Regions from separate parts of the Homo sapiens genome. Here all the other regions are linked to region 5. Evidence: promoter capture Hi-C in 16 types of primary human blood cells and fetal thymus (Javierre and others, 2016). All regions are on one chromosome and are shown on one strand. The core of a region is centred on a gene start or on the middle of the fragment in contact, and the rest is flanking DNA. Distances in the headings are between cores, read along the strand shown. Region 1 overlaps CCP110 (centriolar coiled-coil protein 110). Region 2 overlaps VPS35L (VPS35 endosomal protein sorting factor like). Region 3 overlaps PDILT (protein disulfide isomerase like, testis expressed). Region 4 overlaps CCP110 (centriolar coiled-coil protein 110). Region 5 holds the start of GPRC5B (G protein-coupled receptor class C group 5 member B). Region 6 overlaps GDE1 (glycerophosphodiester phosphodiesterase 1). Region 7 overlaps VPS35L (VPS35 endosomal protein sorting factor like).

What was found. Contacts are between HindIII fragments. The CHiCAGO score rates a contact against its expected background, and 5 or more counts as called.
Region 1: a contact is called between a fragment that was not itself captured here and the fragment with the promoter of GPRC5B in region 5, in 9 of 17 cell types (total CD8 T cells, naive CD8 T cells, total CD4 T cells and 6 more). The highest score is 10.6, in total CD8 T cells.
Region 2: a fragment that was not itself captured here is called in contact with the fragment with the promoter of GPRC5B in region 5 in 16 of 17 cell types (naive CD8 T cells, total CD4 T cells, naive CD4 T cells and 13 more); the score reaches 18.9 in naive CD8 T cells.
Region 3: a fragment that was not itself captured here is called in contact with the fragment with the promoter of GPRC5B in region 5 in 1 of 17 cell types (M2 macrophages); the score reaches 5.4 in M2 macrophages.
Region 4: a contact is called between a fragment that was not itself captured here and the fragment with the promoter of GPRC5B in region 5, in 4 of 17 cell types (naive CD8 T cells, total CD4 T cells, monocytes and 1 more). The highest score is 6.8, in naive CD8 T cells.
Region 6: a fragment that was not itself captured here is called in contact with the fragment with the promoter of GPRC5B in region 5 in 1 of 17 cell types (total CD8 T cells); the score reaches 5.9 in total CD8 T cells.
Region 7: a fragment that was not itself captured here is called in contact with the fragment with the promoter of GPRC5B in region 5 in 16 of 17 cell types (activated CD4 T cells, total CD8 T cells, naive CD8 T cells and 13 more); the score reaches 17.6 in activated CD4 T cells.

The regions. Positions count from the first base shown.
Region 1 is chr16:19,546,748-19,550,519 of GRCh38, reverse strand. It overlaps CCP110 (centriolar coiled-coil protein 110), which reads right to left. Exons shown (of 14, transcript NM_001323572.2): 13 at 2,506-2,565. Among named protein-coding and RNA genes, the nearest start is that of VPS35L, 7.1 kb to the left of the region's middle. The HindIII fragment of the contact is 654 bases long and covers 1,459-2,112 here.
Region 2 is chr16:19,587,032-19,591,149 of GRCh38, reverse strand. All of the region lies in intron 7 of VPS35L (VPS35 endosomal protein sorting factor like), which reads right to left. Among named protein-coding and RNA genes, the nearest start is that of VPS35L, 33 kb to the right of the region's middle. The HindIII fragment of the contact is 837 bases long and covers 1,536-2,372 here.
Region 3 is chr16:20,384,927-20,388,988 of GRCh38, reverse strand. All of the region lies in intron 2 of PDILT (protein disulfide isomerase like, testis expressed), which reads left to right. Among named protein-coding and RNA genes, the nearest start is that of PDILT, 18 kb to the left of the region's middle. RefSeq lists an enhancer at 1,933-2,466. The HindIII fragment of the contact is 7,710 bases long and covers 1-4,062 here.
Region 4 is chr16:19,527,893-19,531,498 of GRCh38, reverse strand. It overlaps CCP110 (centriolar coiled-coil protein 110), which reads right to left. Exons shown (of 14, transcript NM_001323572.2): 2 at 3,477-3,606. Among named protein-coding and RNA genes, the nearest start is that of CCP110, 5.8 kb to the right of the region's middle. The HindIII fragment of the contact is 6,012 bases long and covers 1-3,606 here.
Region 5 is chr16:19,882,919-19,886,719 of GRCh38, reverse strand. GPRC5B (G protein-coupled receptor class C group 5 member B) reads left to right here and starts at 1,872. Exons shown (of 4, transcript NM_016235.3): 1 at 1,872-1,993. RefSeq lists a silencer at 1,319-1,613 and an enhancer at 3,129-3,801. The HindIII fragment of the contact is 5,537 bases long and covers 1-3,801 here.
Region 6 is chr16:19,508,845-19,512,782 of GRCh38, reverse strand. It overlaps GDE1 (glycerophosphodiester phosphodiesterase 1), which reads left to right. Exons shown (of 6, transcript NM_016641.4): 3 at 1,839-1,944. Among named protein-coding and RNA genes, the nearest start is that of GDE1, 11 kb to the left of the region's middle. The HindIII fragment of the contact is 2,165 bases long and covers 232-2,396 here.
Region 7 is chr16:19,567,922-19,571,826 of GRCh38, reverse strand. It overlaps VPS35L (VPS35 endosomal protein sorting factor like), which reads right to left. Exons shown (of 31, transcript NM_020314.7): 3 at 2,236-2,403. Among named protein-coding and RNA genes, the nearest start is that of VPS35L, 14 kb to the right of the region's middle. The HindIII fragment of the contact is 840 bases long and covers 1,897-2,736 here.

The DNA of each region.
Region 1 (3,772 bases), core at 536-3,035, 340 kb after region 5:
ATTCATAGTTAGCATTTTAACCAGCCAATATCCCAAACTCTCAGTTTATATAAAAGAATACAATTCTGGCTGGACGCGGTGGCTTACACCTGTAATCCCAGAGCTCTGGGAAGCCGAGGTGGGCGGATCACCTGAGGTCAGGCGTTCGAGACTAGCCTGGCCAATATGGTAAAACCCCATCTCTACTAAAAATACAATAAATTAGCTGGGCATGGTGGCACGCGCCTGTAATTCCAGCTACTTGGGAGGCTCAGGCAGAAGAATGGCTTGAACCCAGGAGGTGGAGATTGCAGTGAGCCAAGATCACACCAATGCACTCCAGCCTGGGCAACAGAACAAGACTCTGTCTCAAAAAAAAAAAAAGAACACAATTATTTAGTTTCTTTCAATTGTCTAAATATGCACTCATGTATAAGTAAATCTTTAGAAAACAACAGCAACAGACTTTTGTACTTGTTTAGATACATATTAATTCAAGGGTTAAGTTCATTTGTATTAATAAGTATGTTGCAATGCAATTTAACCTCAATAGTTCAAAATAATGAACTTCATTGTATGTTACTAACTTCAGTGACTGACTATACATCCTTTATACTGTTGAGTATTGCTGAATAAAAACAGTACTTGCTATTTTGCTTATAAGTTCACAAGTGACAAATAGTGGAGATGAAATGCATGAGAAAAGAACATGGAGAGTAGTCACTGTGGCAAATTGGTATCAGGCAAAACAATACTAATTCCTCAATGATTTTCCAACTTGCTAAGTTTCAGTGCAATATAGAATACTAACATGAGAAAAACAGAAAATGTCTTAAAATTCCACAGGTTTGGTGTTTGGTCTGAGTCCTTTCAAATGGTTATCTTTCAAACTAGCTTATTCTGACTGCCTCTGGAGTAAACAGTATCTTCAGCTATGTAATCCTTTAAGACAATTCCATTAACTGTCACTCACAATGATTTCCAAAGATGATCTTTTAAATTATCCTATATATGTGTGACACTATGAATTACCTTCACTACATACATACAAAAGGTCAGCCATCATTTCAAAGTTACGACCAATAGCTTGTTCCCTCCTAATTTGAAGGAAATCACTTAGTAATAAAGCTCTAAAATTTGCCTAATTGTATATTAATGGAAAGATTAAAATTGATTAAAGGTTTAATCTTCAATGCCTGGTGATTAATTTAGGTTTGTTGTAAATGTCTAGAAAGCAGTATAGTTAAAGCACAACATTTGGAAAGTATTTTTAAATGGATCACATAATTTTTAAGTGAGCTTAATCAAAGTGTCTTAACAAAGATACCTAAAAAATATTAAAGCATTTGGTTAAGAGCTTTGAATTTGCTCAAGAATGAGTTTGTCTTCTTGCCACCATAAACAGAATTTTAAAATACAGTTTTTAGTTTAGCTCTTAATCCTCAAATAATGAACATAAGGAGAGATTTAGCTCAAGCTTTGGACTGAGCAAAATATGAAGCCCTCCTCCCACTGGCATATTCACATGTGATCTTATAGTCTGAGGGAGAAAGTTTATCCCCTTATGTGCAGATACACTTCCCCAAGCTGAACAGACAATGCACAGACTTAGCACCAGAGATGATCGTTATCTTTTATTCATTAAATAAAAAGGTTTTCTGAATTAAGCATGGCAAATTCTACAATTTTTTCAGAATGAAAAATACAAGGTGCTTTCCACAGAAATATTATAGAAATGAAGACTGGAATCACACTTTTACTAAGACTTCCTGACTGCCATACAATGCTAAGACCAAAGAACACTAATAAGATGACTGTGAATATGCCAAAATTATGGTGGCAAGGAAAGACAATCTATTCCACTTCTATGGCCTGAGTTATGGGGCAGCTTGTGCACTTCCTTCTATTGAATGGGCTTCAGGAATTTATTTTCTACAAACCTGAAACAGGCACTCTGTTAGGCACTCTGCTCTGTGAAGGCTTCTGTCTATTTTGCACAACCCCCTTCACTGATGTCTTAGGGGTTCTAATTGAATATAAAAAAATTAATAAGTCACTGGCATTAAGGTCTAAATGTTCAAAATTCAAAGAAAGCAATCACATTGCATCAACTGTCCAAAGCACAAATAAGCTTGAAAAGAACTGAAGTCTCATGCATGCGCACAGTAAGGAAAGCTAAACTCTGGCTTCAGCAGGAGACTATAAGCACGAGTCATACTCTGTTGGAGAATCACTTCGGTGATGCTGAATTTACTATATGGATATTTAAAATACTTTATGAGTAAAATGGTATGAAATGAAAAGTAAAAACATCCCAACTTAAGACAGTAATTAGAATACACAACAGTACACCAAGAGGGTTACATTTGAAGACAAAACTTTAAAATATCTTTCCCAATGCTATAAAGAAAAAAAATCCCATTGAAAAACCATTATCCTTTACATAAAGAACACTAGATTTATTTTTCCCTCTCAAATCTAATCTTGGTTTCCGTAGTTTTCAATACCCGTGTGTGGCATTCTTACCCTTGTCTACTAAGTAGCCTATGAACAGGTGCATTCTGTCCTTGGTTTGGCTGAAGGACTCTGTTGACAAATTAAATGAAAAATTAATTTAATAGGTTAAATTCCATTTTTTCCCATTTTCTTTCAACGGATGAAAGATGATGACTGTAAGGTAAAGGTCAACTATGCAATAATATGGCCTATATATTACCACAAATCAGAGCAAATCGACTAAAGCATATTAATATGATACTTGTATTTTGCTCACTAAGAGTCCAAACCTTAGGTTTTTATCAGCAAAGAAATGTCCAACATATAGACTAACCCTTGTGCTTTTAGATAATTTTCTTATACATATGCTTTACAAAAGCTAACTTTTCCCTTCAAACCAGTGAGAGAAGAAAGTATCACTCTCATTTTACAGGAGTAAAAAACAGGTCAGAAATATTAAAGTTCGCTTTTTAGCTTTATTTTTTATTTATTTATTTTTTTGAGATGGGTCTTACTATGTTACCCATACTGGTTTGAATTTCTGGGCTTAAGCTATCCTCCTGCCTCAGCCTCCCGAGTACCTGGGACCATAGGAGCATGCCACTGTGCCCAGCTTAAGTTAGCTTTTTTTTGAGACGGACCCTTGCTCTGTCGCCCAGGATGGAGTACAGTGGTGCAGTCTCGGCTCACTGCAACCTCCGCCTCCCAGGTTCAAACAATTCTCCTGCCTCAGCCTCCTGAGTAGCTGAGCAGGCACGCGCCATCATACCCGGCTTTTTGTATCTTTTATTTTTGTATTTTTAATAGAGACAGGATTTCACCATCTTGGCCAGGCTGGTCTTGAACTCCTGACCTCGTGATCCACCCACCTCACCCTCCCAGACTGCTAGGATAACAAGCATGAGCCACTGCTCCCAGCCCAGCTTAAATTAGCTTTCTAAGGTTTTTAAATAAGTATCAAAGATCCTCTGGACTGTCTAACTGAACTCAAGACATACCACGCTCAAAATTTCTACCACAGATAGCATGTCCTACAAAAGGTCCGGGCACATCTGGTCTGACATGTGACTAGGTATATGGCCAGGTATTGGTATGAATCTTGAGCCTGAGGACGACCCCCGACCCAATTCAGCAAGAAGTGCTCTACTGATGTCAAGTAGAACAAAGTCAACAAAAATGAAGTTTGGGATTTAAATTTTAATTTTTTAACTTTTTTTTTTTTTTTTTTTGAGATAGAGTTTCACTCTTGTTGCCCAGGCTGGAGTGCAATGGAGCAATCTTGGCTCACTGCAACCTC
Region 2 (4,118 bases), core at 705-3,204, 300 kb after region 5:
TACTCAGTCCCAAATTCCCCCCAAAAGGAACATAAGCTTCAGTGAATACATGTTACTCTGGAAATATGACCTTCAATGCTGAAAACATTTCAGCTTTGCGGGGAATTGCTGAATTCTACATTCTCATTCATGCCAAAGGGTCACAGCCATGTTCAGGACTATTTAATTTTTTTAAATTTTATTATTATTTTATTAGAGATAAGGTCTTGCTCTGTCGCTCGGGCTGGAGTGCATTGGTGCAATCATAGCTTACTGCAGCAATGAACTCCTGGGCTCAAGCAATCCTCCTGCCTCAGCCTCCCGAGTAGCTGGGACTACAGGTATGTACCACCATGGTTGGCTAATTTTTTTTCTTTAATTTTATGTAGAGGCAGGTTCTCACTATGTTGCTCAGGCTGGTCTTGAACTCCTGACCTCAAGCAATCCTCCCACCTCAGCCTCCCAAAGTGCTGGAAATACAGGTATGAGCCACTGCACCCGGCCAACATGTTCAGAACTCTTTTTTTGAGTACTCGTCTGCTATTTAGCGTTCAGGACTTTTAATGGAAGACCGCAGTCACACAATGTGGCCCCAAACACCTTTGATTATCTTTTATCATCAGAAACAGAAAAGCTCTTTCTACTTTGAAGAACTAAATTTAATGCCATGCCCTGAAGACTTTACAAATTCAAAAGTCAGCATAAGGAATTAAATAACTGCCACACTTCATCACCTCAATGGTTGACCCTCAGAAAGAAAAATGTCATTTAAAAATTAAAAAAAAGATGTTCAGACATTTAGAAAGGATTATTTAATATGCAATTCCAATATGCAGAGAATGGTGAGAACGTTCACCATGTCAAGAGATAGGTTGACATGTGTTTTCAGTTTGGTGTTGTTACCCAACATCTAAATTGTTAGAGTCACCAAGTTTCTCCATAGCATTACAGGCCTAAAAGTAAACAACGTGTCTGATTTGCGAAACATCCCCTTACAGCCCAAATGTTATTTGTGGGGGGGGGGGGGGGGGCGGGGCGGGAATGTAAGCTGTAAAAACAATAGTGCTGACACCAAACGTGGCAACTGGATGTATGTGGAATTCCATTTCCTGACACCTCGCTCTGCGATTTTCATATGCCCTTTGTGAGAGTTCCAACTTAAACAGCTGCCCCCATGAGATTTCAAGGCTGGAAAAAGCTAACAACTCCAAATCTCAGAGACTGTTTACAATACACAGTTCTCGGTTCCTAGGGATGTGACATCTCTGAGTTCTACCCAGAGCTGGGCTTGGACAGTCTCTCAGAGATGAGTTACTGCCCACTGGTGAGGTGAGAGAGAGAGAATTTAAACAGAGGATTTCAAATTAAACACAGCTGGGGCTTCCCAAACATCTGTGCATTGATTTTCTCCCAAGCTGGTTTCATAGAACATATATTTTATAAAGGACAACAGGAATAAGATTTTGTTTTTAATCCAAAGTTAAAGCTATAATGATCTTATAAATTGAAGTTACTTTTTAAATTACTGTTTTGAAGATGCCACAGTTTTTAAAGCTTTGGTGCCGCTTCCTAAACTTGTCTGATAAGAATCAGGTAACCCAGGTATGTGTTAACAATACAAATCCCAGCTGGGCATGGTGGCTCATGCCTGTAATCCCAGCACTTTGGGAGGCTGAGGCAGGAAGATCGCCTGGGCCCAGGAGTTTAAGACCAGCTTGGGCAATGTAGTGAGACCCCAGTTTCTACAAAAAATACAAAAATTATCCAGGCATGGTGGTGTGTGCCTGTAGCCCTAACTACTCAGGAGGCTGAGGTGGGAGAATCACTTGAGCGAGGGAAGCAGAAGTTGCAGTGAGCCGAGACCGCCCCACTGCACTCCAGTCTGGAAGACAGAGCAAGAATCTGTCTCAGAAAAAAGGTTAAAAAAATTTGAATAGCCACAACAAATGCATACATTCAAAGATGACCTGAGTAGGAAGGAAAGAAGTAGACCATTACTATCCAGAATACATCTTAAAAATTGCAAAACTCAGTACGAAAAACACAGATAACAAAATGGAAAAATGGGCAAAAGAAATCAGCAAAGGTCATTTTACAGAAAAGGAAACCCCAAAGGCCTATAAATATGTGAAAAGATGCTCATTTTTATTAGTAATCGAGGAACTGCAAATTAAAACCACAAGAAAATATGACTGGAAAAATTAAAATAGAAAATCTGCTCATACCAAATGGTGGTAGAATGTTGAATAGCACAGACTCTCACACGCCCACATACTACTACAAGCGTATGCTGGCACAGCTACTATGGAAAATAACTTAGCATTATCTGGAAAAGCTGAAGAGGCACAGAGCAGTTCTACTCTTAGGTATAGGCTCTTATCTAGAGAAAAGCTTTACATGGGCACCAGCAGACGTGACCAAACGTGCTCACAGTGACATTGTCCATGTAGTGAAAAAAGAACAGAGCCAGATGCTCATCAACAGATGGCAAAATTTATGCATCAGAAAATGATTTCATACTCAATGCAATACCTGTCAGAATCCCAGAAGGTTTTTTTTATTTTGTAAAAATTGACAAGCTGATCCTAAAATTCATACAGAAATGCAAAGGGCCCAGAACAGTGAAAATAATTTAAAAAAAGAAGAAGAAAAAAAAAGTTAAAAGACTTACACCACCCAGGCCAGGCGTGGTGGCTCATGCCTTAATCCCAGCACTTTGCGGGGGGCAAGGTGGGTGGATCACCTGAGGTCAGGAGTTTGAATTGAGACCAGCCTGGCCAACACGGTGAAACCCCATCTCTACTAAAAATACAAAAATCAGCCGGGCATGGTGGCAGATGCCCGTAATCCAAGCTACTCGGGAGGCTGAGGTGGGAGAATCGCTTGAATCTGGGAGGTGAAGGTTTCAGTGAGCCGAGCCAAGATGATGCCACTGCACTCCAGCCTGGACAACAGAGCAAGACTCTGTCTCAATAAATAAATACATACATACATACATACATACATACATACTTATATTACCCAGTTTCAAACTTGCTATAATGCCATAGTAATCAAAACAATGTGGAACTGGCCAGGCGCAGTGGCTCATGCCTTTAATCCCAGCACTTTGGGAGGCCGAGGTGGGTGGATCACTCGAGGTCAGGAGTTCGAGACCACCCTGGCCAACATGGTGAAACCCCACCTCTACTAAAAATACAAAAATTAGCTAGGTGTGGTGGTGCACACCTATAATCCCAGCTACTGGGGAGGCTGAGGTATGAAAATCGCTTGAACCTGAGAGGCAGAGGTTGCAGTGAGCAGAGATCACGCCACTGCACTCCAGCCTTGGTGACAGAGCAAGACTGTGTCTCAAAAAAAAAAAAAAAAAAAAGACAATGTGGAACTGGCATAAGGATTGACTTATGGATCAACAGAATGACAGTGAGAGTCCAGAAATAAACTCTTACATTTATGGTCGATTGATTTTTGTTTTTTTGTTTTTTAAGTAGTCTGAATTTGCCACCAGTGGTCAATTAATTTTTTTTTTTTTTTTTGAGACGGAGTTTCACTCTTGTTGCCCAGGCTGGAGTGCAATGGCACGATCTTGGCTCACCGCAACCTCCGCCTCCTGGGTTCAAGTGATTCTCCTGCCTCAACCTTGAGTATCAAGTAGCTGGGATTTCAGGCATGCACCACCACACACAGCTAATTCTGTATTTTTAGTAGAGACAGGGTTTCTCCATGTTGGTCAGGCTGGTCTTAAACTCCCGACCTCAGCTGATCCGCCCACCTCAGCCTCCCAAAGTGCTGGGATTACAGGCATGAGCCACCACGCCCAGCCTTGGTCAATTGATTTTTAACAAAAGTGCCAAGATCTCAGTAGAGAAAAACATAGTTAACATGGTTTGGCTCTGTGTTCCCACCCAAATCTCATGTCGAATTGTAATCCCCAGTGTTGGAGGAAAGGGCTGGTGGGAGGTAACTGAACCATGAGGGCAGACTTCCCCCTTGCTGTTCCTGTCAGACAGTTCTCATGAGATCTGGTTGTCTGAAAACCTGTGTCACCTCCCTGTTCTCTCTCTCTCTCTCTCTTTCTCTCTCCTGCTCTGCTATGGAAAGATGTACCTGCTTCCCCTTTGCCTTCTGCCACGATTTTA
Region 3 (4,062 bases), core at 818-3,317, 500 kb before region 5:
TTTCACACCTACAAACTTGGAATTCAAGGTTCCAGAGCCCAGAAGGAAAACCAATTTGCAATTTTTTTTTTTTTTTGAGATGAAGTTTTGCTCTTGTTGCCCAGGCTGAAATACAATGGTGCAATCTTGGCTCACCGCAACCTCCACCTCCCAGGTTCCAGCGATTCTCCTGCCTCAGCCTCCCAAGTAGCTGGGATTACAGGCGTGTGCCACCACGCCAGGCTAATTTTGTATTTTTTGTAGAGACGGGGTTTCTCCATGTTGGTCAGGCTGGTCTCAAACTCCTGACCTCAGGTGGTCTGCCCACCTTGGCTTCCCAAAGTGCTGGGATTACAGGCGTGGAGTCACCACGCCTGGCCCAATTTACAAAATTTTTAAAGAAAGAAGCCAGAAAATCGGACTCTAAATTTTAAAGAGTGGCGTTGGCTGTGTAGGTTGTCTCTGCTCTGATGGGAACCACCTGGAACAGAAGAAATGAAAAACATGCCCCCATTAATCTGCTCCAAGAAAAAGATTTTTCAGACCAGCTGGCCAATTTGGTCATTTAGAGCATGAACCTTGGAGCCAGTCAGCCTTCGAGTTGACTCTCAGCCTAACTGCATACTAGCTGTAAGACCTCTGGGTTTCCATTTCCTTATCTGTGATATTCCTGCTTGTAATCACAGATAACTCACAGGATTGTTCTGAAGATTAACCAGGGTAATGCATGGAACACTAAGCAAGTACTTAGCACAGTAAGGGATCAATACGTGTTGTTATTATTACTATTCTCATTATCAACATCGCCATCAATATCATCATCATTATGGCGATGATAGTGACATCATCATCATCTTTCCATAGAAGATCCTACATAATCCTATGTCACTCAGATAAAAACCTCAGAGACACCCTTGACTCTTCTCTTTCACCATGTTCCATATCCAAACTCCTCCTCCCAAATCTCTCTAGAATGGAATCACTTCTCAGCCCCTCCATTACCACTCTCCTGGCCCAAAGCCATCACCATCTCTTGCCTGGATTACTGTAGTAGCCTCCGACTGGTCTACCTGCATCCTTTCTCTTTCCCTTTTTGTCTAATCTCCATATAATATTCAGAGAAATCCAGTTAAAAAGTAGCTCAGATCACCACCTAAGGACAGGAGTTCAAGACCAGCCTGGCCAGCATGGTAAAACCCCATCTCTACTAAAAATACAAATATTAGCAGGGCCTGGTGGTGCATGCCTGTAATCCCAGCTACTCAGGAGGCCAAGGCAGGAGAATCACTTGAACCCGGGAGGTGGAGGTTGCAGTAAGCCAAGATGGTGCCACTGTACTCCAACCTGGGTGACAGAACAAGATCCGTCTAAAAAAAAAAGAAAAAAGAAAAAAGAAAAGAAAAAGAGTAACTCAGATCACCTCCACCTCTGCTCCAAACCCTCTGGTACCATTCCATATTCTGGGAAAAGTCAAAGTCTATTCAGTGGCTTGCGAGACCCTACATCACCTGTCCCCTGGCCCCAGCTCACTCTGCTCCAGACCCAATGGACTTCTTGTCATACCTTGAACATGTCACACATGCCCCACCTCAGGGCCTTTGCATACACTGGCCCTTTACCAGGAATTCTCTCCTGCTAGATGTCTACATGGCTTGCGCTCTCATTTCTTTCCATCTTTATTAAAACATTGCCATCTTTAGCCTCCTACTTAAACTTGCAATTTCCCTAATACTCCCAACCTCCAACTCTCCTGTTCTTTTCCAAAGCACATATTATCTAACACAGCACATATTTTACTTTGTTATTCTGCTTATTTTCTGCCTTTTCAAGTGACAGCAGGGGTTTTTATCTGTTCACTGTTATATCCCCAATCCCTAGGACAGTGCCTGGCACATGGCATATCCTAAAAGTTTCATTGTATGAATGAATAAATGAATGAATGCATAAAACGAATGAATGAATCTCCATTACTATTATCATAGGCCCCATCAATCTAGCTCTCAGACCCCAGCACTCCGGTTGCCACAAGCTCTCTCTGTCACTTCCATTTCAGACACCCAGGGGCACTGGGTTGTGTGTGGAACCTCTAAAATTTGCTTTACCATCTGGACAATCATTCCAAGTGTTTCTCTTGCCCTGAGCTTCCGCCCTCAGAAACTCAGATTCGGATTCTATGTCAATCAGCAATCCTGAGCCCAGCATGGCCACATCCACGAGGAAGCCGGGGAGAGCCCCATGGACCAGAGCAGCCAGCAATTGGCCAGTGCATGCTGGTGATGATGGATAGGGGATATCAGGGGATATCGAAGGCGATGACGGTGACAAAGCAGGCAGTGGAGGGGCATCGATCCAGGAGGGAGGCACAAAGTCCCCGCTTCCGGTCCATTGACCGGGAGTTTAATGAAAGCGATCATTCACTTTCCGATCCCATTGCAGGAGCAGGCGTGCTGACCAGCAACGGGGCCCTCGCCAGCTGTCCCGGGGCCCTGCTTTCTGAGCGGCACTTTACAAAAGACCTCTCTGTTGGACTTGGAACTTGCCCTCTGCAGCAGAGGTCATTTGCACTTTCTCCAAGTGCTCCAGATGGACCACGGGGGTGGGCGGCAGTGAAAAAGATAAAATGTTCTGGCTTGAAAGGCAATCAATGACCCCCTGCCCTGGCTCAGCCCCCCTTCCTCAGTCATGGGGTAGCGAGGAACCTGCAGCCTCACAATGTTATCAGGAGGAAGAAAGGCACACTTGGGCGCCTTTTAGTCCCCTCCGTTTAGCCAGAAAAGCCTCTTGCACTGCCAAGGTCACGTGCCAGCTCCCTGATACCGCTTCCAGAAAAGGGCTTCCCCAGTCCCTCCCCACTGCCCAGCAACGTGAGGGGCCAAGGCGTCCAGATCAGATCTCTTAATGGAGAGTTCCAGGTCTCTTCGAGACAAGAGGGTGGACTCAGGGGAACACCACAACCTCCCCTATCCCCGCCCTCCCCACACCTGGTTTTCCTTACCTGCGAAAGTCCCCTGTCCAATTACATGCAGGGCAACTGCAGGGGCTCAATTTGGCCTGTTAGCTCCAGGACGTTCCACCAGATGGCGCTCATGAGCTCTCATGCTTCCTCTCTGTCTCCATAATTTCTGACCACAGAATTTTTTTAAAACAAAAAATTTTAATAGTTTGGAAAATTTCCCTCTAGACTTCTTTTGCCCTGGGCATACACTTTTTAACAATTCCATAAATGTGATCATCGTGTCTATGCTATTGAGTGGTTTGTTTTTGTTTATTTCAATAGCTTTGGGGGTACAAGTGGCTTTTGGTTACAGGGATGAATTGTGTAGAGGTGAGGTCTGAGATTTTAGTGCACCCATCACCTTAGTCATGTTCTTTCTACCCAATATGCAGTTTTTTTTGATCCCTCACCCTGCACCCAGCCTCCCCGCATCTGAGTCTCCAATGTCCATTATACCACTCTGCATGCCTTTGTGTAATCATTGCTTGGGTCCTGCTTTGACCACAGAAATTTTACTATAATAATGGAAGCAGTAATAAGAACGCAGCATGTACTTAACTTGTGCCAGGCATTATACCAAGTGGTTTACATGCCTAGTGGAGATTAGAAAAGAACTCTACAGCCAGACAGAATGGGCTCTTATCCTGGCCTTACCTCTCACTGTCACAGGGCTTTGCGCAAGTAAGTCATTTGTTGTGCTTCAGCTTCCTCATGTATAAAATTGAGATAATAATAATACCTATCCCACAGAGTTATAGAGAGGAGTAAATGGCTTAATGCACGTAAAACTCTTAGAAAACAATAAGCAATTATAGCTGGTTGTGACATAAATCTCATTTAACTCTGACGATTCCTTGAAGTAACCACTATTATTTTCACCCACTTTACACAAGAGAAGTGGAGCTCAGAGAGATGGAGTAAAGTTGCCCATGGTTGTGTTGTTTCCAATGCTACTGAATCCAAAGAACCTTGATAGACATCTCCCAGATTGTCTAATTTCATGAACCATTGTGTCTCACATCTTGTCACATTTATGAAAATTCAGCCATTAACCGCTGAGCACAAGAAAGGTTCCGGGAGCTAAGCAG
Region 4 (3,606 bases), core at 754-3,253, 360 kb after region 5:
ATAAAAATATAATGTACCTAAAAAATGGAAGGCTTCTAAGCATTGTATCTCTTTATAATGGATTTCAATCTTAATTATTAAGTCCTGGGAAATTAAATCACTGTTAACAGTCAAGACTTATCGTAGACTTACACAAATAGAAAATATATCATTAAAAAATTATTTCAAAAGTTGCAATATTCACCTATCAAATACAACATAAAAGTGTGGATTAGGTCCATAAACATCACATTTTGCTTATAAATAAATAACAGACGGAGTCATAGACCCTACACAACAAGCCTCAGACATTTTGGTCCACATTAAATCAAGCAATGTGTTATCAAATAGCTGATAAATATGTTGTTTTAAAACTTTTTCCTAATTGCATGGTACCAAAGAATGATTATACAATTTACTTGCTAATCAAAAGGAGAAAATGTGTACTTTAAAGAGCCATCTGGCAGTCACTACTGTAAGCAAGTGTTCAAACTAAACATCACTAATAGAGGGCAACTAAACATTATGTAACTTCTGATTTAATTTAGTATGAAGTGCAGGGCATCATCTCCAAAGAATTCCTTTTTTTTTTGAGATGGAGTCTCAGGTTGGAGTACAGTGGTGCGATCCCGATCCCTCCTGGGTTCAAGCGATTCTCCTGCCTCGGCCTAACGCACAGCTGGGATTACAGGCACCCACCATCATGCCTAGCTAATTTTTATATTTTTAGTAGACAAGGGGTTTCGCCATGTTGGCCAGGCTGGTCTCGAACTCCTGACCTCAAGTGATACACCCATCTCGGGCTCCCAAAGTGCTGGGATTACATTTTTTTTTTTTGAGAGAGGGTCTCACTCTGTTGCCCAGGCTGTTGTGCAGTGGCTCGATCTCGGCTCACTACCTTTGCCTACTGGGTTCAGTGGATCTTGGCTCACTGCAACCTTCGCCTCCTGGGTTCAAGGGATCCTCCTGCCTCAGCCTCCCACATAGCTGGGATTACAGGCATCCACCACCACGCCCAGCTAATTTTTGTATTTTTAGTAGAGACGGGGTTTCGTCATGTTGGCCAGGCTGGTCTCAGCCTCCCAAAGTGCTGGGATTACAGGCATGAGCCACCCCGCCCAGCCCTATCTTCAAAGAATTCCAAAAATCTTTAACCTGTTTATCAAACTTCACTTCCAGTTCATAGGAACTACAGGGACTAGAGAAACAAGTTAAATAACACTATTAGGAAACAATGGGACAAATCCAAGATCTAAGGAATTCTACAAGACAATAGCTCTGGTCTCTTTAAAAATTCAGTATCATAGTTTTGTTATTTTTTTAAAGACAGTATCTCACTCTGTCACCCAGGTTGGAGTGCAGTGGCATGATCAGGGTTCACCGCAGCCTCAGCCTCCCGGGCTCAGGTGATCCTCCCACCTCAGCCTCTAGAGCAGCTGAGACTCCTGGTGCGCGCCACCACACCCAGCTCTTTTTTGTATTTTTTGTAGGGATGAGATTTCACCACGTTGCCCTGACTGGTCTCAAACTCTGGGGATCAAGCAATGCAATCCACCCACCTCAGCCTCCCAAAGTGCTGGGATTATAGGCGTGAGGCACCATGCTCAACCAATAAAAAAAACTGTTTTTAAGACGTACAGTAGCTATTTTAGATTAAAATAAAGAAACATAACAAGCAAATACTAATTGTGAACTTTGGATCCAGATTGGGGGAATAAAGTTATAAAAGGCATTTTGAGCACAAATGGAAAAATTTAAATATGAACAGAATTATTAGATATTATTAAAAATTATTAGTTTTCTTAAGATGTGATAATGGTATTGGGGCTTTACATAGGAGAATGTCCTTATTTTTAAGAGATGTACACCAAAATATTTAGGGGAGCAGTGTCAGGTCTCCGTGGTTTTCAAATAGCTAGGCAATTTTTAAAAATGTCATATGTACACACACACATAGATGTATATAAAAATCACAAACACAATAAAGCAAAGATGACAACAATGTTAAAAATTATTTAATCTAATGGTAAATCTATGGGTGGTCACTGCACTATCCTTTCAACTTTGCTGTATGTTTGAAAGTTTCATTACAAAAAGTTGGCAGTTAGCTCTGGTGTCTTTAAAAATTCAATTCAATTAATTAAAATTAATCTCTTAACTCCTGTTATACCAAAAAATAAATTTAAAGCTCACTTTTTTCTAATATTAGTTTGTGATTTAAAATAAAGTCATATGCATTTTTAAAATATCCAATTAGTATCAAAGGGTGTATGATGAAGTGTCTTCCCTATTATCCTATATTCTCTCACCACTCCCCAGAAAAGGAATAGCCATCCTTTGAAAAACCCAAATGGTTAACTTATATTGGGTACCTCTTATGATCCAGGTGGTATTCTAACCATTTTATATCTACGAATTCATTTAATCTTCAAAATAGCCTTATGAGGTAGGCACTATTTTATCCCCATTTAACAAATAAGAAAATGGACCACAAGTTTACACAGCAAGTAAGTAGCAAAGCAATGATTTGGACCCAGGCCAGAAGGCTCCACAGCCTAGACTTTTTTTTTCCTTCTTTTGGGATAGGGTCTTGCTCTGTTAGCCCAGGCTGGAGTTTTTTTCCTTCTTTTGGGATAGGGTCTTTCTCTGTAGTCCAGGCAATGATGCAATCCTGACTCACTGCAGCCTGCAACTCCTAGGTTCAAGCGATCCTTCCGCCTTAGCCTTTGAAGAGCTGGGACTACAGGCACATGTCACTGCGCCAGGCTAATTTTTTAACATGTTTTTATAGAGATGAGGTCTCACTATGTTGACCAGGCTAGTCTTGAATTCCTGGTCTCAAGCAATCCTCTTCCTTCCGGTCTCTCAAAGCATTGGGACTATAGGTGTGAGCCACTGTGCCTGGCCCAGAGTCTGGACCTCTAATCATGACTCTATACTGCCCCTGACAGCATGCTGCACACGGTGTTTTACACTAGATCATTGAGATCCTTCCATGCCTCAACATTTACATCTGCCTTACTGTAATGGTATGTATGAGAGTTTATAAAATAGACCATAGTTAAACTACTCCACTACTGATGGACATTTAGGTGGTTCGTCAACCTTTGCTATTTTAAACAATGCTAATGTAACTTTGTACTTATTTCTTTGGGCTCACATATAATTGTAGGATATACCCAAAAATGGAACTGCTGACCCAAAGGCTATGTATGCTTTTAAATTCTACCAAACTGCTCATCTAGAAATAAAATAAACTGATTCTCTTAGCAAAAGTGCATTAAAAGTGCATTTTCTCCACAATCTAAGGAACACAAAGTTCTATTAGGTCTTGGCCAATCTATAATAGTAAGTAAAAAATGCTAATTCATTTGTATTTCTCTAATTCTGAATGAGGGCATCTCTTCAAATGTTTATAAGCCTTTCTTTTGTTTTTCCACGAACTGTTTTAGTTGTTCACTACAGAAAAAAACTATTTAAAAACAAAGCAAGTTTACCAGTGGAGAAAGGATAGCCACTCCATGAAAGCGAATAAGTGAGATACTTTCAGACTGAGCAGGGAGAAAGCTCTCTGTGGATAGTGATGCTTCTTGTATTCTGGCAAGACTTTTTTCACAGAACTTCTCA
Region 5 (3,801 bases), core at 623-3,122:
GACCATCACAGTCAGGGTCCTCTGTAAAACAAGTGGGAAAGGGAATATAACCGTAACTGCAATGTTAATCAGCTCATATTAAGGATTTTCCACATGCCAGACCCTGCGTGAAGCACTTTATATGTTAGCACGTGTTAGACCTTCACAACAACCCCAATAGGCATGTGCGATGAAAAAGATCTCCATTTTGCAGACGTTGAGGACATGTGGCTCACGAAAGTGAACTTGCCCACGTTGACAAAAGGATCTCGGCGTCAGTTCCAAGAGCTGCCACCAGGTGACAGTGCCCATCCACTTTCCAATTGCGCAGTCTGGCGGGAACACACTTTGGGTCGTCCCGCAAACATTTAATGAGCGCCTACTGTGCCTGGAACTGTTCTGGGCTCTGAGGATCCATGCAAATAAACCAGGAGTGGGGCGAAAAACTGCCATTATGGTTCTTCCTTTCCATTTTCCCTTGAATATAATAAAAGGTATCCCAGAGATGCGTGCCCAAGGGGGATGTGGCCTAACCGGACCGGAACTGGGAGGCTGGCAGGGAGGGATGGGAGTATCTGGAAGGGCCACGGTCCCCAAAGATCAGGGGCTGCCACTATTCCCAGAAGGAGGTGTTCTGCATCTCCCCTTCCTGCAGCCCCCGGGAGAGGGGAGCAGGGGTCCGTCCTATCCCTTTTGGTCTTATGTGGCTGGGATGGTTGCGGCGACGGGGGTAGAGATTGGGGGGCGCACCGCGGAGGGAGAAAGGAAATCTCACCCTGAGAATCTGGAGTGCAGGGAAGGGATGCTGCTCAAAGGTCTGTTTCTGGCTTTGGCGGGGGGCCACCTGAGACTGCCAGGGTTTGATGGTCTGAAGGTCACCCAGGGAACCAGCCCCATATGGGGTGCCGGAGCGCAGCTCCCAGGCCTGGTCGAAGCAATGCGACCTCGGAGAGGCCTGAGGACTAGGACGGGGTGAGGGGGACTCAGAGACGGCTGCCCCGGACCCCTCCTTCAAGCAGGTCCCACGGCCGCCCAGCGGACACGCGTCCGGGCTGTGCCCTGACCGTCTGCGGAGCGCACGGCCAGTGGCCCGGGCCGCTGAGTGTGTGAGCCCTGAAGGGCAGTGGACATGTGCGTACGTGGGTGATGTGTGCGGTAGGGGTGGTGGCGATCCTGCGTAGGGACCCACGTGAGGGGTGCACCGACTGGACGTGTGTGTTTCGAGGGGCCAAGGAAGCGGGTGTTGGTCCCAGTGTGCGTAAACGGACAACGACATCTGGGAGTTGGGCAGTGAGGAGAGAGAAGAGTGTGTCCAGGAGGAACCTGCCTGGAGGAGGCCTAGCGGTGTGTGTGCGCCTAGGTGTATACCGGGGCGTTGGTGACTTCGAGAGGCACCGGGCGGGATCGATCCTCTCTGCGTCCTGGACCTGGTGCTGGTGTGTTTCGGGGAAGTTACTGCTTATGAACCCCCCTTGGAGCGTGGCCTGGGGGCAGGAAGGCTTCCGCGCTGGGACCCCTGGGTCGCGATACCTCCCTCGGTAAGTGTATTGGCTAGGGGAGTGTTCCCGCAAATGGATCTACCCTGGGGAGTTGCCCGGCTCGTCTGGACTGCTTACGGGCGCACTGACGTTGTGGGGGGAATGTCCCCGAATTGGGGGCACGAGGTCGGGGGAATCGTCTCTGAGATCCGGGCTAGAAGCTACGAGCTTGGGCTCCGGGGGTGCATGCAGACGGCGCCTAGCCCCGCGCGGAACCGCCGGCGGGACCGGGGGTGGGGCTCGGAGGCCCGGGGGCGGGGCCGGCCGGGGGCGGGGGCGGGGGCGGGGCCGCGGCCGCTGCAGCAGCGCGGGCCGGGCCAGGGGGCGCCTCGCGCGGCAGCGACTCTGGCAGGCGCTGCAGTGAAGCTGGACCCGCAGGCGGGCGTGCGTGGAGCGGGGGCCGCGGCCGCGCCGCAGAGATGTGACTCGGGCCGAAGGCCAGCTGGAGCGTCGGCGCTGCGGGGCCGCGGGGGTCGGTAAGTGCGAGCTGCGCCGATGCAGTGGAGGACGCTGTGGGGACCCCAGAAACTTTTCCCGCCGTGGATTTGGGAGAATTGGGGGGTCCGCTTCTTGTGTTTTTCTAAGCGCCCCCCCAACCCAAGCCAGGGAGTTTATTGCTGGGGGAGATGTGGAATCTGGGCGAGGGGAACCACGGTGCGACGAGAGCAGAGCCGTAGAGGGGTGGGCGGGGGAGGGGAGGATCTGGGGACCTTTACGGGGGGAGGGAGACTGTGCCCGGACCAGGTAGAGATCCAAGTCTCCCAGGAGGGTGTGGGGGCGACCACAGGTGAAGGGCAGCTGGGAGGGTAAAGGAGCCCAGCCGTGTCCTAGTGACTCGTCATGTGTGAGGAGCTGCGGGCTGGTCCTGGGGCCGCGTTGGGGGCTGACTGTGGACAGGGCAGACGCAGCCGGGGGCACAAGGGCTGGACTTTGGGGGTGAACAGCCGCACCTGTCGCGGGGGCTGGGGGTCAAGCCCGCAGCCGGCTTGAGTGCGCATTACTCAGCAAGGGGAGGGGGGGACACGGCGGTGGGAGATGGCAGAGCTGAGACCTGGGCTGGGGACGAATGACGGGGAGGGGTGGGGAGGAGGGGGCGGCTGCATACAATGGCGGGGGGGGCAGTGGCGTTTCCCTTCCAGACAGGGGGCACTTGGACCTCTGGAAGAGGCGGCTAGGCTGGAGATAAGGACTAGACCTGTTCTCGGTCCCCTCTCCTTGGGGGACACAGGCTTCCAGCCCCACAAGGACCCCACACATCCCGGGGTCCCTAGCGCTTAGGCCGAAAAGGGAGCGCGCGGGAGGAGCCCGCACCCGCCTTGGCCCCGGGCAGCCGGTTGAACAGCCTGGGAAGGGGCCAACGACCTTGCCCCAGAAATCTCCCCCGTGCAGCGGGTTCACTCCTCCGTCCTTGCTCTGTCACACCCAGGCCTAGCCAGTCCTCCCTTTCCGTCCCCCGTTCGCTAAGGGGGCGGCTCCTTGGAGCGCGGACAAAGGCCCCTGGAGTGTGGCGGGCAGCGGCGTCCCCGCCTGGGGCCCCAGCCCACGCGCCACATTGGCCGCCCAACTGCACCAGGCCGGGGGGCACCTGAACAGAGCCCAGAAAGCCCTGGGGGACCCCGCAAAGACAAGAGAAGTGGGGGAGGGATCTGGCACAAAAACCCCGGCACTTCAGCCAAGGAACCTTCTTAATTCAGAAGTTTCTTCGGTGGGGACTCGGGCTTGCGGAGGATCCAGGCTTTGAGTTAAACTGCATGCAAATGACATGTAAATAGAATGCAAATTGGCATCTGTCGTTTGGAAGCCCTCCCGGCCAGTTTGGTATCTAAGACTGTGGAGTGAACAGTTTGCTATCTGCTCCCTGCTCTAAGCCTGGAAAGGGGTCAGCTGAGTTGGGAAGGGAAGGAGATTCCAGGAGGAAGGAGCCGCCATTTGGGGGCACAGGCAGCAAGACAGGCAGTTTTGTTAGAAAGATAAACTCAGAATCTTTACTGGATTAATATGTTATTTCAAGAAACGTGCCAGGGACAGAACTGGGTGCCTTGTATAAAACGGACAAAACCCCTGCTCTCCCGGGGCTGGGGAAGTGAGTGGACAAACATTAAACAAACCCATAGCAAATGGCTATGAAATCCGATTGGGGTGAGGACGGCCAGGAAAATAAGATGGGGTGATGTAAAAGAAGGTGACAGGGGTGTATGTACCTGAGATGACTGTTCCGGGAGTGACATTTGAGTGGAGCCCAGCTAGAAGAGGGGCCCTCCGCTGGGAGGTCTTGGAGGAAGAC
Region 6 (3,938 bases), core at 65-2,564, 370 kb after region 5:
GATATCCATATGCAGGATAATGAAACTAGACCCCTATCTCTCACTATATTTAAAAAATCAACACAAAATGGATTAAAAGTTTAAATTTAAGACCAGAAACTATAAAACTACTAGAAGAAAACACAGGGGAAAAGCTCTGGGACATTGATCTAGGCAAAGATTTTATGGCTAAGACCTCAAAAGCACAGGCAACAAAAACAGGCAAATGTGACTATATTAAACTAAAAAGCTTCTGCACAGCAAAGGAAATAATCAACAGAGTAAAAAGAAAACCTGTTGAATAGGAGAAAATATTTGCAAACTATTCAACAGACAAGTAACTAATATCCAGAATATACAAGGAACTTAACAGCAAAAACAATAATAATCCCATTAAAAACATCTATTCAAATCCTAATTTGAATAAACATTTTTCAAAAGAGGACACACAAATGGCCAACAGGCATATGAAAAAACACCACAAATTATTAGGGAAATGCAAATCAAAACCACAATGAAGTACCATCTTATCTAGTTAGAATGGCCATTATTTAAAAGATTTTTAAAATAACAGATGCTGGCGAGGATACAGAGCAAAAGGAACTCTTATATTCTGTTGGTGGGAATGTAAATTAGTACAGCCATTATGGAAAACAGTATGGAGGTTTCTCAAAAAACTAAAAATATAGAACTACCATACAATCCAGTAATCCCACTAGTTGGTATCTATCCAAAAGAAAGGAAACTAGTGTATCAAAGGCATACTTGCACCCCCATGTTTATTGCAACACTATTCACAATAGCCAAGATACAGAATCAACCTAAGTGTTCATCAGTGGATGAATGGATAAACTGTGGTAAATATACTCAATGGAATACTATGTAGTTAGCCATAAAAAAGGATGATATCCTGTCATTTACAGCAACATGGATGGAACTGAAGGTATTATGTTAAATGAAATAAGATAAGCCAGGCACAGAAAGGCAAATATTACATGTTGTCACTCATATATGGGAGCTAAAAAAGTTGATCTCATGGAGGTAGAGAGGAGAATGATAGTTACCAGAGGCTGGGAAGGGTTTGGGGTTGGGGGAAGAGGAGAATAAGGAGAATTTGGTTAATGAGTACAAACATACAGTTCGATAGAAGGTATAAATTCTAGTGTTCAATAACATAGTAAAGTGATTATAGTTAACAATCTGTTGTATATTTCAAAATAGCTAGGAGATTTAGATGTTCCTAACACAAAGAAATGATAAATATTTGGGGTGATGGACATCCTAAATACCCTGATTTTATCATTATACATTATGCGCATATCACAAAAATATGTCTAAGTGTATAGCAATAAAAATGTGGAAAAAAGAATATCTATAATTTGGTTCAAATTATTACAGTAGGACAGGCGCAGTGGCTCACACCTGTAATCCTAGCACTTTGGGAGGCCAAGGCAGGTAGATCACTTGAGGTCAGGAGTTCAAGACCAGCCTGGCCACCATGGTGAAACCCCGCCTCTACTAAAAACACAAAAAATTAGCCAGGCGTGGTGTCACACGCCTGTAGTCCTAGCTACTTGGGAGGCTGGGGCGGGAGAATTGCTTGAACCTGGGAGTTGGTAGTTCCAGTGAGCTGAGATTGCACCACTGCACTCCAGGCTGGGCAACAGAGCAAGACTCCGTCTCAAAAAAAAAAAAAAAAATCTTAAAGTAAAGTATCTTTGGACTTTGCTATGGTCGAAAAAAGGAAGTTGGAGAAAACACTCTTTCCTTTTGATTGAGAGACATATGCAAAATGTTTGTTGCAATACAGTTTATCTGTTTCTCTTTTTTCCTACAACGTATTTTCTCTTCTCTTACAGGAATGATTTCCCTGATGAAAAGATCCCTACCCTAAGGGAAGCTGTTGCAGAGTGCCTAAACCATAACCTCACAATCTTCTTTGATGTCAAAGGCCATGCACACAAGGTACAGTTTAAATTGTGGACTTCACTTTGTTAAAAAGACATCTTATTTCATTGACGGTCATTTCCGAAGTTACATATATTTTGTTATTTATTCTTTTTAAAACTTATTTTTATAAATTGTATTTGTTTAATGGAAGTGTACAATGCAGGAATCTATATCATTTAAGGAAACAGTGCATTATGGAACTTTTTAACCTTTTATGGAAACTTTACAAAACCAGCATAAAATGGAAGAGTCAAGTTTCTATTATTTACATAAAGCATTTACAAAAGATATTAAGTAAACAGTAAAAAAGACATTTCTAGAAAAAAACCACTGTAGTAACCTTGAGTTACTTGAAAAAAAGGAATTCCGAAGTTGTACACAAGACCAATTTTATCTAGCTTAAAAGTTAAGGGCCTTATATGGACAACTATGGACTGCATTTAAAGAGAATTCCTATATTAAAAGCTTCTAATAGTTAACAGAACATATACCTTTTACATAGATTTATCCCTTTGTATAATTTATATCCCTTATGTATAGTTTTTTATTCATTGATTTTAGCAGTTATACTTTTATCAGAAAATCATTTATTTTCTTCAAATGTATTTGACATTCCTAGATAAAATTTTGCTTAAATTTTAGGGCCTGCACTTACACTCATAAGAACATATTATTACAGTGAAAATCAGTGGGAAGATATGATTCTGATTACATTTGTTCTCTTATAACCAGCTTTTCAAGTGCAAGTACTTTTTTCCCCATTTGGGCAACTTGAGTATTTTTCCCCTAGCAATATTAATAATCGGTAAGGGCCATCTACTGGTTGAGAATTCTGATGATGCCAATTTTTTTTTTTAATTAATCCCATGATATCATTGAAACCAGTTGTTAAAACCCAAAATGGGCCGGGTGCAGTGGCTCACACCTGTAATCCCAGCACTTTGGGAGTGGATCACCTGAGGTCAGGAGTTCGAGACCAGCCTGGCCAACATGGTGAAACCCCTGTCTCCACTAAAAATACAAAAATTAGCTGGACTTGGTGGCGGGCACCTGTAATCCCAGCTACTCGGGAGGCTGAGGCAGGAGAATCGCTTGAACCGGGGAGACAGAGGTTGCACTGAGCCGAGATTGCGCCAGTAGTACTCCAGCCTGGGTGACAGAGCGAGACTCCGTCTCAAAAAAAAAAAAAAAACCTGAAATGTGGAGCCTAAGTATACACTCTAATTTTATTAACAGTTAATTCCTATTTTTGAAGAAGGAAGATAATGGTAACTAATTTATTATTCTAGTAAACCGATAGTTGTATACGTCTAGGTTTTCCAATTGGTCTGCGTTAGAATCACCTGTACCTATTTTAAAATATAAATTCCTGGGCCATTCTCCCTAGGGAAGAGATTCTGAAAATGTCTAGGGTGGGCTCAAGGAACATGTATTTTTAATGAGCACCTCAGGTGCTCATTGTTGATGTTGCAGCCCACATTTGGGAACCCTGATAGGTCCTACATTTCACCCATGGTATACTGACTTTTATGCTTATTCTCTTAGATTTTTTGAGACAGAGTCTCACTCTGTCACCTAGGCTGGAGTGCATTGGCGCGATCTCGGCTCAATGCAACCTCTGCCTCCGGGGTTCAAGCAATTCTCCTGCCTCAGCCTCCCAAGCAGCTGAGATTAGAGGCATGTGCCATCACACCCGGCTAATTTTTGTATATTTAGTAGAGATGGGGTTTTGCCATGTTGGCCAGGCTGGTCTCAAACTCCTGGCCTCGAGTGATCCGCCCACCTTGGCCTCCCAAAGTGCTGGGATTACAGGTGTGAGCCACCACGCCTGGCTTCTCTTAGAATACTTTTTAAAAAGAAGTAGACATTTAAAAAAGAAAATCTAGCTATTTGAGTCTTCTGAATGGGTGCTCATGGGTGTTCAGCCAAGACTGGGTAGAACATAGTGACCTAATTCACCAAGATGGTAGTAGAAAGGCACAAGTGTAGGCAACAAAGTGGAGCTAGTA
Region 7 (3,905 bases), core at 1,067-3,566, 320 kb after region 5:
AAACTTGTAATCCCAGCACTTTGGGAGGCCAATGTGGGCAGATCACCTGAGGTTAGGAGTTCGAGACCAGCCTGGCCAATGTGACGAAACCTTGTCTCTACAAAAAATACAAAAATTAGCCAGGTGTGGTGGCACATGCCTGTAATCCCAGCTACTAGGTAGGCTGAGGCAGGAGAATCACTTGAACCCAGGAGACAGAGGTCACAGTGAGCCAAGATCGCGCCACTGCACTCCAGCCTGGGCAACAGAATGAGACTCCGTCTCAAAAAAATAAAATAAAATAAAATAAAATAAATTAAAAAAAAAAGTTGTGGGGTGCAGTGGCTCAGGCCTGTAATCCCAGCAACTCTGGTAGGCCAAGGCAGGAGGATTGCTTGTGCCCAGGAGTTTGAGACCAGCTTTGGCAACACAGTGAGACCCCAACTCTACCAAAAAATCCAAAATTAGCTGAGTGCGGTGGCACACACCTGAAGTCCCAGCTGCTCGAGAGGCTGAGGCAGGGGGATTGTTCGAGCCCAGGACTTTAAGGCTGCAGCGAGCTATGATCATGCCACTGCAGTCCAGCCTAGGCAAAAGAGCAAGACTATCTCCAAAAAAACAAGTCACAAAACAGCAGTTCCATTTATGTAACAATGGTAAATAATATATGAAACACAGGCCGGGCACAGTGGCTTACGCCTGTAATTGCAGCACTTTGGGAGGCCGAGGTGGGTGGATCACGAGGTCAGGCGTTCGAGACCAGCCTGGCCAATATAGTGAAACCCCGTCTCTACTAAAATACAAAAATTAGCTGGGCATGGTGGCACGTGCCTGTAGTCCCAGCCACTCGGAAGGCTGAGGCAGGAGAATCGCTTGAACCTGGGAGGTGGAGGCTGCGAGTCGAGATCACCCCACTTCACACCGGCCCGGGTGACAGTGTGAGACTTCATCTCAAAAATATATATATATATATATATATATATATATATATATATATATATATATATATATATGAAACACAGCATAGGATGATGATCGAGAGCATGTATTCTGAAGTCAGACTGGCCAGGTTTGAATCCCAGCTTGGATGTGACTTGTTATCTCTATCCCTCCATGGCTGCCTCTTTAATGAGGATTCCAATACCTCTCACAAGGTAGTAAGAGAACCAAATACAAAACGCACTCCGGAAAAATGCCTGCCATGCAGTAAGTTGATGCTGTAATTATTTATATATGAGTACGTATGGGAATGCTCAGAAACTGCTATCGCAAGTATCTATGAAAATACAGGGGAAAAGCTATGGAAGAAGACACATTACAGCCATCATTCTCACAACCGCCAGGGTGGAGATTGGAATGAGGATTGCTCTACATGACTTTATCTGTAGTGTCTGACTTTTTCACATCAAAATGAGTGATTTACTTATGTATTATGTAAAAAGATTTATAAGAAGAATAAAATTAAAATTAAAAATAAATTTTAAGAGCCAGGTGCAGTGGCTCACGCCTGTAATCCCAGTGCTTTGGGAGGTTGAGGCAGGTGGATCACTTGAGGTCAAGAGTTCAAGACCAGCCTGGTCAACATGATGAAAGCCCATCTCTACCAAAAAACACAAAAATTAGCTGGGCATGGTGGTGCATGCCTGTCCCAGCAATTTGGCAGGCTGAGGTGAGAGAATTGCTTGAACCCGGAGTCGGAGGCTGCAGTGAGATTGCACCACTGCACTCCAGTTTGGGTGACACAGCAAGGCTGTCTGAAAAAAATATTAAATTAAAAAATAAAAATAAATTTTAAAATGCTTTCAAACAAAAAAACAAAAAGACTTCACAGAGCTACACCAGCCTCTCATGTCAGGATGACCTGACCAGAAGGTACCGTGTGCATTACTTGTGCAACTTAAAAAAGGGGAAGAAGCTTTAGGAGGCTCAGGTGGGAGGATCGCTTGAGGCTTGGAGTACAAGACCACCCTGGGCAACACAGCAAGACCCCACCTCTACAACAAAATAAAAAATTAACCCGGCACAGTAGTGTGTACCTATAATCCCAGCTATTCAGGAGGGTGAGGTGGGAGAATTGCTTGAGCCCCGGAGTTGGAGGCTGCAGTGAGCCATGACCACACCACTGCACTCCAGCCTGGGTGACAGAGTGAGACTCTGTCTCTCAGGGGAAAAAAAAGGGCAGGGCACAAGAAAACCACCCATTCCTGCACCCACAAAACCAACCCCCACTGGACGACCATGGCTGGGGTGCATTACCATGGCAGCTGCCAAGGCTGCGGGGTCAGCAGTGGCTGCAAACATGGAGAGGGGGTCAGTCCCATCGAGGACGCTGCTCAGCGGGTCCACCACGGAGCTGGAGGAGGAGGAGGACGTGGAAGAAGTGCTTCCTTTCCGGTTCACTTTCTTTGTCTTTGACTCTGTGACCTGTGAGGAAAATTTCTGGAGGTAAAACGGAACTCCCACAACTCTCTCCAGTGAAACACTCCAGTGGGTACTTTCCTCCCATTCTGGTAGTTGAATGGATGGTTCATTTGCAGCAGAGACTTAACCATCTGCAGGGGATGCTTAGTTTTTGTGACAAATGGACATGACTCAGGATCACAACTGTCAAGGAAGGGAAAGTAGGAAGTTAGGGTTAGGAAGTGTTAAAAAAATTAATTGAGAGGTCACTGGACTGAGATGGCTACAGCACCTGGGGTTCCCTATGTAGCAAACCAAAATCCAACTCAATATAAGTAGCAAAATGGAACTTAAGCTTAATCAGTTGCAAATCGCCAACTACCCACTAACTAGAGACTACCAATCAAAACCAACAACTAACATCTAAGTAGGGAATTTCTACTTTAACCAGGTACTTTTTTTTTGCCTTTCTCCCTTGAACACCTCATAAAAGTTAAGTTTTCTACTGGGTGCAGTGGCTCATGCCTGTATCCCAACACTTTGTGGTGCTGAGGCAGAAGGATCACTTGAAGCCAGGAGTTTGAGACCAGCCTGGGCAACATGGTGAAGTCCTATCTCTACAAAAGATATGAAAATAATCCAGGTGTGGTGGTACATGCCTGTGGTCCCAGCTACTCAGAAGGCTGAAGTGGGAGGATGGCTGGAGCCCAGGAGGTGGAGGTTGCAGTGAGCCGAGATCGCACCACTGCACTCCAAGCTGTTAAATTTATGTGGTCTCTGCCCCCAGTTCCTCCCACAGAGCTCCTAATACCCTAGGAGATTTCCTGGGTGATAGGAGCATCTTTTGTCCTAATAAGGTGACTCCCGATGGGCTCCTGCAGAGCTTCAGGATGGGGTCTGGTCACCAGAAAGACCAAGCCATGATTAGAAGATTGGAGCTTTCAGCCCCATTCCCCATCCTTCGGGAAGGTGAGAGGGCTGGAGACCGAATGAATAATCAATCATGCCTATGCAACGATGCCTCAAAAAAAAAAAAACATGAAAAATGGGGTTTTGGGAGGCAGAGGTTGCAGTGAGCTGAGAATGTGCCATTGCACTCCAGCTGGGCGATACAGTGAGACCCTGTCTCAAAAAAAAAAAAGGGGGGGGCGGTTTGAAGAGCTTCCAGGTAGGTGAACAAGAACACATCGAGGTACCTGGAGGGGACATGAAAGCTCTGTGTGCCCCTTCCCCTGGGCCTCACCCTACGTAGCTCTTCATCTGGCTGTTCATCTGTATTCTTTGTAATATCCTTAATAATAAACTGTTAAGTACAAGTAAATACTAAATAATAAACTGGTAAGTATAAGTAAATGTTTCCCTAGTTCTGTGAGCCACTATAGCAAATTATTGAACATGAGGGAGGGAGGCATGGGAACTCCCAATGTGTAGCGAAGTTGGAGTTTCTGAAGTGAAGATGTCTTTTTTTTTTTTTTTTGGAGACAGGGTCTCGCTTTGTCACTAAGCCTGGAGTGCAATGGTGTGAT